Linked DNA regions of Homo sapiens: region 2 is linked to region 1. The links are contacts of gene promoters, found by promoter capture Hi-C in blood cells and fetal thymus (Javierre and others, 2016). All regions are on one chromosome and are shown on one strand. Each heading gives the region's core, a stretch centred on a gene start or on the middle of the fragment in contact. The rest is flanking DNA. Distances are from core to core; before and after follow the strand shown. Region 1 holds the start of TMEM190 (transmembrane protein 190). Region 2 overlaps SYT5 (synaptotagmin 5).

Region 1 (5,083 bases), core at 1,306-3,805:
CTCCCTCCTGCAGACAACCCCTTGGCTCCAGCTGTCAGGACCAGACTGAGATGTGCAGCTGCCCCTACATCCGTGGCCAGACGGACGCTCCCTGTACCCCCTCCCTCCTCACTTGGATAAAAAGCAGATTTGCCTTAGTGCTGCATGTCTGTCTGGGAGAGGGACCCTGCTGGGGTGGGAATGGAGACGAGGTGGCTTGCTTCCTTCTAGCACCCAGGTGGGCCTGGCCACACCTGAGGTGAGGCTGCCCCTGCCCTGGGGAGACCAGGAGCCCTGGGGATATAGGAGCCTAGCCTTATGCTGGCCCCTTCTCAGAGGGGGCCAGAGAGGGGGCGGGGGATAAGGATCTTAGCCCAGACCCTCCACTCTAAGCCCCAACATCCCTGTGTGAGTTTGGGTTCACTGAGAAGCAGACACAGAGACAAACTGGACTTGCAAGATATGTCTTGGGGAAACACTTTTGTAGGGTAGCTTGGTGCAGGGAGAGGGAGGGAGGGATGGGTAGGACTAGTCTTAGACTGTACCGCACCTCCAAGAAAATTGCCACTGGCCCCTGGGGAGCTGGGAGCTGAAGTCATCGTCCATGAGGGAGGCCCCTGCCCTTCGAGAAGGCACCTGTACCCGGAACCCCCACCCCTTGCCTCGCCATGCTCAGTTATTGGTGGAGAGCAACCCATGGTAATCTAGGTGCATCTGGGGTGGGGGCGGGGGGCACTGTCAGTCACTGGCACTCCATGTAGGAGACTGAGGGGCACGTTTCCACAGCTGTGGCGTGCCCCTCTCCCCACCCAGTCCAGGCACCCCTCAGACCCCACCACCCCCACATACCCCCAACTCCCTCATTTCAGACCCGCACTCCAGCACTCGTACACCTCTATCCCCTCAGTCCAGGGTCCCCATGATCACAGCCCAGGACACCCCCATGAGCGCAGATCCCCCTCAGCTCGGATCCTCCCCACTTACCTCCCAGATCTCTCTCATTCCAGGCTCCCCCTCAGCTCACACCCCCACGACCACAGCCTGGCGCCCCCTAAGCCTCCATCCCCAAGCCCCCTCCAGCCCCCACCTGTTACCCCAGCCTCTGTGTGCACCATGCCCCCTGCTCCCCACGGCTTTCAGAGAAGAGAACACACGTCCGTCCACCGTATCTGTATTGAGCAGTCCCCCGGGGACTCCCCTAATCCTCCTCTTCCTCGCCCTCTGTCTCCTCACCCTCCTCCGTCCCTTCCCCCTCGGTGCCTCCCTCCACATCCCTGGACTCTTTGGACAGGGCGACTGGCACGCTGCCCGTGGACGGCGTCTTCTTGGTCCCTCGGTGCTTGGAGAGCAGCGAGACGGACTTGGACATGTCACACGGACCCGCCAGGAAACCGGGCATATGCAGCACGTCCCGGCGCTTGGCCCACCTGCAGGGAGCGGACGGCTCAGCCCCCGCCCTCCGCCGGACCCTCCCCCTGGGGGTGCAGGCGCCCGCCCTATCCCAGGCCCACTCGCCAGAACAAGCAGATGCTGCAGCTCAGGAGGAGGAGGCCGCTGCACGTCCAGACCAGCGCCCACATGTGCTTCCTCCGCACGTTTTCTGGACAAGGGAGGCAGGGTTAAGACCCGGGGCTCCCGACCGCCAGACCCACGCCCCAGGGACCTGGGGCCAGGAGCCCTCACCGTCTGGACGCTGGTGGTAGCAGACCCCATTGCGGTAGCAGCACCGGAGACGCAGGCAGAGGTTGGGGCTATCGATGGCCGCCTGGCCCCCACAGCTCTCCCGGTCCCATATGTCACCCTCACAGCCTGGGGACCAACCACCAGTGGCTTGCTTCATCACAGCGCTCCGCTCCGAAGGCCTCATACACGAGATTCCAAGGCCATGCTCCCAGGCTGCCTTCCTGGTGCTTACTCTGTGCAGGGCCCCAGGGGTCCAGACTCCACCCCCTCCTCCCTCAGACCCAGGAGTCCAGGCCCCAGCCCCCTCCTTCAGACCCAGGAGTCCAGGCCCAGCCCCTCCTCCCTCAGACCCAGGAGTCCAGGCCCCAGCCCCCTCCTTCAGACCCAGGAGTCCAGGCCCAGCCCCTCCTCCCTCAGACCCAGGAGTCCAGGCCCCAGCCCCTCCTCCCTCACACCCAGGAGTCCAGGTCCAGCCCTCCTCCCTCAGACCAAGGAATCCAGGACCCCAGCCCCTCCTCCCTCAGATCCAGGGATCCAGGCCCCCAGCCCCTCCTCCCTCAGACCCAGGAGTCCAGACCCCCCCGTCCTCCCTCAGATCCAGGAGTCCAGGCCCCAGCTCCTCCTCCCTCAGATTCAGGGGTCTGATCTGGGCTCCCCTCCCTGGGTGACCCAGTATTTCAGCGGCTGCTCACTCCATGGGTAGAAGAATCCCTGGATTCCATTTCCGTCTGCGAGAGAAAGGGCAGTGTTAGGGCTGTGTGGAGCCGGGCGTCCCTCCTCAGCTCCCCCGCCTCACCAGCCCCTCACCTGCCGAGCCCTGCAGCAGCAGGAGCAGGCCCAGCGCTGGGATCCCACAGCCCAACATGTCACCTCCCCAGACCCCTGGGGCCACTGTGGGAAGAGGCCTTACAGGACATCACCCCAGCAACCGGCCCCGCCCGCCTGCCCGCCAGGCCCCAGGATTGTGAGTTCTGTTGCTAGGGAGTCAGGGGTGTGCTACGGACGTGGAAGGGCTTCACACCAGCCTGGCCATGCCTGGTCTAGGGTGTTGATTCTTTAGGGACCTGGTGGAAGAGTGGGGGCGTCTCAGGTTTAGAAGAGCCTCTTTGGCCACTTATGGTGGGAAAGAGAAGTCTGGAAGGGCGTGGGAGTCTGGGGCGTGTCTCCATATCACCCGGGGCGCCCTGAGGGGTGGGGAACTGGGAGGCTTTGCTAGGGAGTTTCTTTCCTAAGGAAACTGATACCTGAGAAGGTGGATTCGGGTGGCCCGAAGGTTCAGGAAACCCCGTTGCTAGGGAGTTTTTCGCCTTAACAACCAGGGGAAGGGGAGCTGTGAGACACAGAGGCCTCACTGAGCCCCATTGTTAGGGAAAGTCCCCCCCGCAATGAGAAGACCTGGGAGGGGGATGAGACAAGGGGCCGGAGCCTAAGTCCGGGGGTCTCCTGGTCCAGGGGTCTTGAGAAAGGCTTTTCATCTCAGCCCTGCCAGGCCTGCTGTCTAGGGAATGTTTAGCAGGGAAGGTGATAGGGCTGGGCGCGGTGGCTCACGCCTATAACCCCAGCACTTTGGGAAGCCAAGGCAGGCGGGTCACCTGAGGTCAGGAGTTCGAGACCAGACTGGCCAACATGGGGAAGCCCCGTCCCTACTAAAAATACAAAAATCAGCTGGGCGTGGTGATTACTTGCCTGTAATCCCAGCTACTCGGGAGGCTGAGGCAGGAGGATTGCTTGAACCCAGGAGGTGGAGGTTGCTTGAACCCAGAAAGTGGAGGTTACAGTGAGTCGAGATCGTGCCACTGCACTCTAGCCTGGGTGAAGGAGTGAGACTCTGTGTCAAAAAAAAAAAAGAAAAAAGAAAAAAAAAACAAACAGGGAAGGGGACAGGCCATGTGGGCCCCTGCTGAGTTTGAGGGCCTGGTGGGCCAGAGCTGCTCGGAGACTGTAATGGTGGCTCCTGGACAGGGAGCCCACATTTCCCTCCTGGATTTGTTTCCCCATCTGTGAACAGAGGTTAGGGAGTGGTGGGAGGGAGTCGGCTAAACGGAGATCCTGAAGCTTCCACATTGATTCCCCCCACCACTCCCCAGTGACTGAGAGAAAACTTGGCTTCCAAGAAGAGGAAACCGGAATGGGGGGCTGGGTTGGAACCATAATCCCTAGTGCACCCCAACTCATCCATTCAGCTTTGCAGCACAGTGAGGAGGGAGTCTTAGCTCCCTGGGACAGTCTCTGGGCTAGAAGTCCTGCATCTGAAGGAAAAGGGGGTTGTAAACTCAGACACCTGCATTAGAGGGAGAAGGGGCTGGAGCCTGGACTCCTGGGTCTGAGGGAGGAGGGGCTGGGGGCCTGGACTCCCGGGTCTGAGGGAGGAGGGGCTAGAGCCTGGACTCCTGGGTCTGAGGGAGGAGGGGCTGGGGGCCTGGACTCCTGGGTCTGAGGGAGGAGGGGCTGGGGGTTCCCAGACTCCTGGGTCTGAGGGAGAAGGGGCGGGAGCCTGGACTCCTGGGTCTGAGGGAGGAGGGGCTGGGGCCCTGGACTCCTGGGTCTGAGGGAGGAGGGGCTGGGGGGTCCCGGACTCCTGGGTCTGAGGGAGGAGGGGCTGGGGGCCTGGACTCCTGGGTCTGAGGGAGGAGGAGCTGGGGGGTCCGGGTCCGGGACTCCTGGGTCTGAGGGAGGAGGGGCTGGGGGCCTGGACTCCTGGGTCTGAGGGAGGAGGAGCTGGGGGGTCCCGGACTCCTGGGTCTGAGGGAGGAGGGGCTGGGGGCCTGGACTCCTGGGTCTGAGGGAGGAGGGGCTGGGGGGTCCCAGACTCCTAGGTCTGAGGGCTGGACTCCCAGGTCTGAAGGATGGGGCTGGGAGCCAGAATTGGGTCTGAGGGAGGAATGCCTGGGGACCTGGACTCCTGGGTCTGAGGGAGGAGGGGCTGGGGGCCTGAACTTGTGAGTCTGGGAGGATGGTCTAGGAGCCAGACCCCATTTCTCAGGAAGCCCCGTGGGGTGACTCCCCGTGTTACCCATCTCTCCTGTAAACATCCTGGTGGGTACTGAGTGGGCCCCGGGCTGCCTTCGTCAGAGATGACACAGGTTAGAGGGGGCTCTGCAGGGGGCCGGGGGTGAGGGTCAGAGGGGTTGTGGGGCTGAGGCCGGGCAGCTGCTGACCGTTTCCTGTGTCAACATCATCTGGACCCACTTCCCAATTCCCGGGATTCCTCAGGGATCAAGGAGGGGGTGGGGGGCGGGGCCGCCTGGCCTTGGACCGCGGCTTGGGACTGGGGGGGCCCCGCCGTCACGGCCCTCACCGCTAATGACAGGTTTGGGCTGCCTCTGTGGCCGGCCTGCCCCGTCACCCCCCAGAGGCCAGACGGGACCCCCCAGGGACTGACAGACGGACACACACACAGCCTGGGACCTGCTGACCTCAC
Region 2 (5,083 bases), core at 1,288-3,787, 210 kb after region 1:
ACCCGCGGCGGCCCATTGCCCAGTGGCACTCGCTGCGGCCCCCGGACCGAGTGAGGCTGCTGCCTGCGCCCTGACTCCCACCCCAAGCCCCCGGCCAAGCCTGGACTCTAGCCCCTGACCCCAGACTCCCGAGACCGGCCAAAGCCAAGCCAGCCCCACCCTTAAGCTTCCTCTGACGGTTACCCTCCCCCCACCTTCCACCCCAACCATCTGAACCATTCCTGTCTTCTCACCCCCAACGATGCCAATCACGACAACTTTCCAGCACACTCCCCCGACCCTCGCGGACACACCCAGATGCCCCAGGGACCCCGGGAAGGGAAGGCAGCCTGGTTTCTCCTGCCCCCGGGTCCTGCCCCCTGCTTTGACAATCAGCCATCCTCGTCTGCTCTCCTCTCTCTTCCAACACAGCCCATCCCTGCACTGCTCCTGGGGCCAAATAAATATTCAGCAGCTCCGGTGGCCTGGGCCCATGCTCCTTGATGGGGGTGGGCAAGGGCTGGGACCCAAGAGGAAACCTCGTTTCCAGGAATGGGCGCTCGCAGGGCGGTGTGAGTGCTGTTCGTCCTGAAAGCCTCTGAGAGACTGGCCTGACCCCATGGACTCCCTCACACTCTCACCCGTTCATTCCTCACTCACCACTCTGAGCCTGGGTTTCCTCCTCTGGAGAATGTTGGGATAATAATAATTCCTGCCACACGCTGGCTGTGAGGAGTCCGCGAGAACTCCCTTGCTTGTCCATGAATTTATCCACTCGCTTGCTCACCCATGACTCACATCGATTTTCATACCCATTTCTGCATCCCTCCCTCCCTCTCTTTTTTTTCTTCCTTCCATTCCATATTCCCTGAGGTCTTCTGTTGAGTGCTGGGGCCCCAGAATATCCAAACACAGACCTGACCCCCCAAGCGACTTACTGCCATCAAAACAAAGGAGAGGCGCGGAGCCAGGGAATACAATCTCCAGAGCCTGCGAGAGAGGTTGGAGTTCAGCAAGGAAAGCCAATGATTTCAACTTCACCTCTTTCTTTTTTCTTTTCTTTTTTCCTTTTTGTTTTCTTTCTGTCTTTCCTTTTCTTTCTTTTTCTCTTGTTTTTTTTTTGTTTGTTTGTTTTTTTGTTTTTGTTTTTGTTTTTTTGAGATGAAGTCTCACTTTGTCGCCCAGGCTGGAGTGCAGTGGCACGATTTCGGCTCACTGCAAGCTCCTCCTCCCGGGTTCACGCCATTCTCCTGCCTCAGCCTCCCGAGCAGCTGGGACTACAGGCGCCCGCCACCACACCCGGCTAATTTTTTTGTATTTTTAGTAGAGACGGCATTTCACCGTGTTAGCCAGGATGATCTCGATCTCCTGACCTCGTGATCCGCCCGCCTCGGCCTCCCAATGTGCTAGGATTACAGGCGTGAGCCACCGCGCCCGGCCCTTCTTCTTTTCTTTTCTTTTCTATTTCTTTTCTTCTCTTCTTCTTTTTTTTAATTTTGAGACGGAGTTTCGCTGTTGTTGCCCAGAATGGAGGGCAATGGTGCAATCTCGGCTCACCGCAACCCCTGCCTCCCGGGTTCAAGCGATTCTTCTGCCTCAGCCTCTTCTTTCTTCTTTTTTTGACAGGGTTTCTCTGTGTACCCTGGCTGGAGTGCGGTGGGGCAATCATAGCTCACTGCAGCCTCAACCTCCTGGGCTCAGGGGATCCTCCTGCCTCAGACTCCTGAGTAGCTGGGACCACAGGCACATGCAACCATGCCTAGCTAATTTTTTCTTTTCTTTTCTTTTCTTTTTTAGAGATGGGGTCTTGCTATGTTGCACAGGCTGGTTTCAAACTCCTGCAATCCTCCTGTGTGAGTAGCTGGGACTGTAGACATGAGCCGCCGCATCTGACCTCATTGTTCTTTCAACGAATGCTGCCTCCTACTCTGTTTCTAGCAAAGATGATAGTTCCATTGGCTTCTACCTTATCTCATCCCATACAGAATTTTGGGTGGTGAACAAAGACCTATAAGATTTGGCCAGAGAACTCTCTGAGCAGCAGATTAAGTGGAGAATGAGGCAAAAATTACCCCCACGTACCAAAAAAGGAGGCAGCAAACAAACTTACTTGCTCCTAAGCTTCCTGGTAGCCAATCGGGAAAGTGAAAATAGAACAGCTACACAGATTATAATATCCATGAGATTTTTAATTTTTCTCCAAAGGAATTCAGTAACTTTTCATGTGTGTGAGTGTGTGTGTGTGTGTGTGTGTGTGTGTGTGTGTGTGTGTGGCTGTAGAGCATGTCTTTATGAAGACAGCCCTTTATGTTACTACTATTACTGCCAATAATAATCCTCACAGCAAACTCATGAAATAAACATGATCATTATTCCCAGTTGACAAATGAGTCCAAACTGTGCTTTAGAAAATTTGGGGCTGGGCGTAGTGGCTCACGCCTGTAATCCCAGCACTTTGGGAGGCTGAGGTGGGCGGATCACCTATGGTCAGGAATTCAAGACCAGCTGGGCCAACATGCTGAAACCCTGTCTCTACTAAAAATACAAAAATTAACTGGGTGTCGTGGCAAGCACCTGTAATCCCAGCTACTAGGGAGGCTGAGGCAGGAGACTCGCTTGAACCCAGGAGGTGGAGGTTGCAGTGAGTCGAGATCGCGCCATTGCACTCCAGCCTGGACAACAAGAGCAAAACTCCATCTAAAAAAAGAGAGAGAGAGAGAGAGAGAGAATTCCTGTGAAATGCTCAGAATCACACAGCCAGAGAGCCTGTCTCTAAATCCTGGGATTGATTTAGATGATGGCAATGGGGTCCTTGGGTCTCTGTCTCAACAAGAAAGCAGAGCGATAGAAGAATAAAACCATTACAAATGGCCGTCCACACTGGGACCAAAACGTAAAAAGGCTGACATAACTTAGGGAGGGTGGTCAGGGGCAGCCTTGCTGAGGAGGTGCGGTCTGGGCCATGACTTGAATGACAAGAAGGAACGAAGCTTGCAAAGGTTAGGGAGAACAACAGTGGAATATTATTTGGTCATAAAAACAGAAGAAAGCATTGATTCATGCTTCAGCATAGATGAGTCCTGAAAATATTATGCCAAGTGAAGGAAGCCGGATACAGAAGGCTGCATAGTGCAGTATTCCATCCAAAAGAAATCTCCTGCACTGACAAATACATAGAGACAGAAAGTAGATTCGTGGTTGCCAGGGACAGAGGAGAGAGAAATGGGGAGATAAATGGGGTACGTGTTTTCTTTTGGAGTGATGAGAAAGTTCTGGAATTAGACAGTGGTGATGGTTGCACAGCATTGCAAGTGTACTAAATGTCATTCCCAATCAACTTAATAGTGTGTGTGTTTTACACCAATTTAAAAAGAAAACAAGGCCAAGCACGATGGCTCATGCCTTAATCCTAGCACTTTGGGAGGCAGGAGGATTGCTTGGGGCCCAGGGTTAGACACCAGCCTGGATAACCTCTCTATTTTTAAAATTTGTAAAGTTAGCTAGGTATGCTGGCACGTGGCTATAGTTCTAGCTACTTGGGGAGCAGAGGTGGGAGGATCGATTGAGCCCAGGAGTTTCAGGCTGGAGTACTCCAGCCTAGGCAACAGAGCAAGTCCCTGCCTTAAATAAATAAATAAATAAATACAGCCGGGCGCAGTGGCTCACGCCTGTAATCTCAGAATTTTGGGAGGCCAAGGCCGGCGGATCACTTGAGGTCGGGAGTTTGAGACCAGCCTGACCAACACGGAGAAACCCTGTCTCTACTAAAAATACAAAATTAGCTGGGCGTGATGGCACATGCCTGTAGTCCCAGCTACTCAGGAGGCTGAGGCAGGAGAATGGCTTGAACCCGGCAGGTGGACGTTGCAGTGAGCCGAGATAGCGCCATTGCACTCCAACCTGGGCAACAAGAGTGAAACTCCATCTCAAATAAGTAAATAAATAACAGCCTGGGCAACTAGTGAGACCCTTTCTCTACATAAATAAATAAATAAATATCCGGGCATGGCGGCACTTGCCTGTGGTCCCAGCTACTCAGGGGACTGAGGTGGGAGGACTGCTTGAGCCTGAGAGGTTGAGGCTGCAGTGAGCTATGATCACACCACTGAACTCAAGTCTGGATAACAGAGCAAGACTTTGTCTCAAAAATAAATATATAGAAAACAAAGATGAGGGGGAAGATAATTTAAGGCAAAAGAATCCCAAGTTGCAAAGGCCCTGGGGTTCAAACGGCTTGGTGTGTTCTCCAAGGAGCCAGGAGGCTGATGTGGCTTCAGGGGTGGATGACTGCAGATTGCATAGGGCATAGGGAGCCAAGCTAAGGAGCGGGGAATGTGTCCAGGTGCAGCGGGAAGACTTTGGAGGATTTGAAGAGGTGGGAGACATTATTTGATTTATGTTTAAGATCACTCTGGGCCAGGTGCAGTGGCTCACACCGGTAATTCCAGCACTTTGGGAGGCTGAGGCCGGCGGAACTCTTGAAGTCAGGAGTTCGAGACCAGCCTGGCTAACATGGTGAAACCCCGTCTCTACTAAAAATAAAAAAGAATCGCTGGAGCTGGGCACGGTGGCTCACGCCTGTAATCCTAGCGCTTTGGGAGGCCAAGGCAGGTGGATTGCCTGAGCTCAGGAATTCGAGACCAGCCTGGGCAACACGGTGAAACCTCGTCTCTACTAAAATACAAAAAATTAGCTGGGCGTGGCAGCGTGCGCCTGTAATCCCAGCTACTTGGGAGGCTGAGGCAGGAGAATTGCTAGAACCCGGGAAGCGGAGGTTGCAGTGAGCCAAGATCGTGCCACTGCACTCCAGCCTGGGCGACAGAGCAAGACTCCGTCTCTAAAAAAAAAATAATAAATAAATAAATCGCCTGGCTCGGTGGTTCACACCTGTAATCCCAACACTTTGAGAGACCAAGGCGGGCAGATCACCTGAGGTCGTGAGTTGGAGACCAGCCTGACCAACACGGAGAAACCCTGTCTCTACAAAAAATACAAAATTAGCCGGGCGTCCTGGCGCCTGCCTGTAATCCCAGCTACTCGGGAGGCTGAGGCAGAAGAATGGCTTGAACCCGGGAGGCGGAGGTTGCGGTGAGCCGAGATCGCG

What was found. Contacts are between HindIII fragments. The CHiCAGO score rates a contact against its expected background, and 5 or more counts as called.
Region 2: a contact is called between a fragment that was not itself captured here and the fragment with the promoter of TMEM190 in region 1, in 7 of 17 cell types (M0 macrophages, activated CD4 T cells, naive CD8 T cells and 4 more). The highest score is 9.6, in M0 macrophages.

What each region holds. Positions count from the first base shown.
Region 1 is chr19:55,374,298-55,379,380 of GRCh38, reverse strand. TMEM190 (transmembrane protein 190) reads right to left here and starts at 2,555. Exons shown (of 5, transcript NM_139172.3): 1 at 2,470-2,555; 2 at 2,355-2,390; 3 at 1,663-1,788; 4 at 1,495-1,579; 5 at 1,135-1,406. The coding sequence starts at 2,527. The coding sequence ends at 1,178. TMEM238 (transmembrane protein 238) reads left to right here. Exons shown (of 2, transcript NM_001190764.2): 2 at 14-137. RefSeq lists an enhancer at 1-86 and a silencer at 4,609-4,830. The HindIII fragment of the contact is 5,299 bases long and covers 1-3,719 here.
Region 2 is chr19:55,168,475-55,173,557 of GRCh38, reverse strand. SYT5 (synaptotagmin 5) reads left to right here. Exons shown (of 9, transcript NM_003180.3): 9 at 1-2,362. The coding sequence ends at 74. Among named protein-coding and RNA genes, the nearest start is that of DNAAF3, 4.4 kb to the right of the region's middle. The HindIII fragment of the contact is 869 bases long and covers 2,103-2,971 here.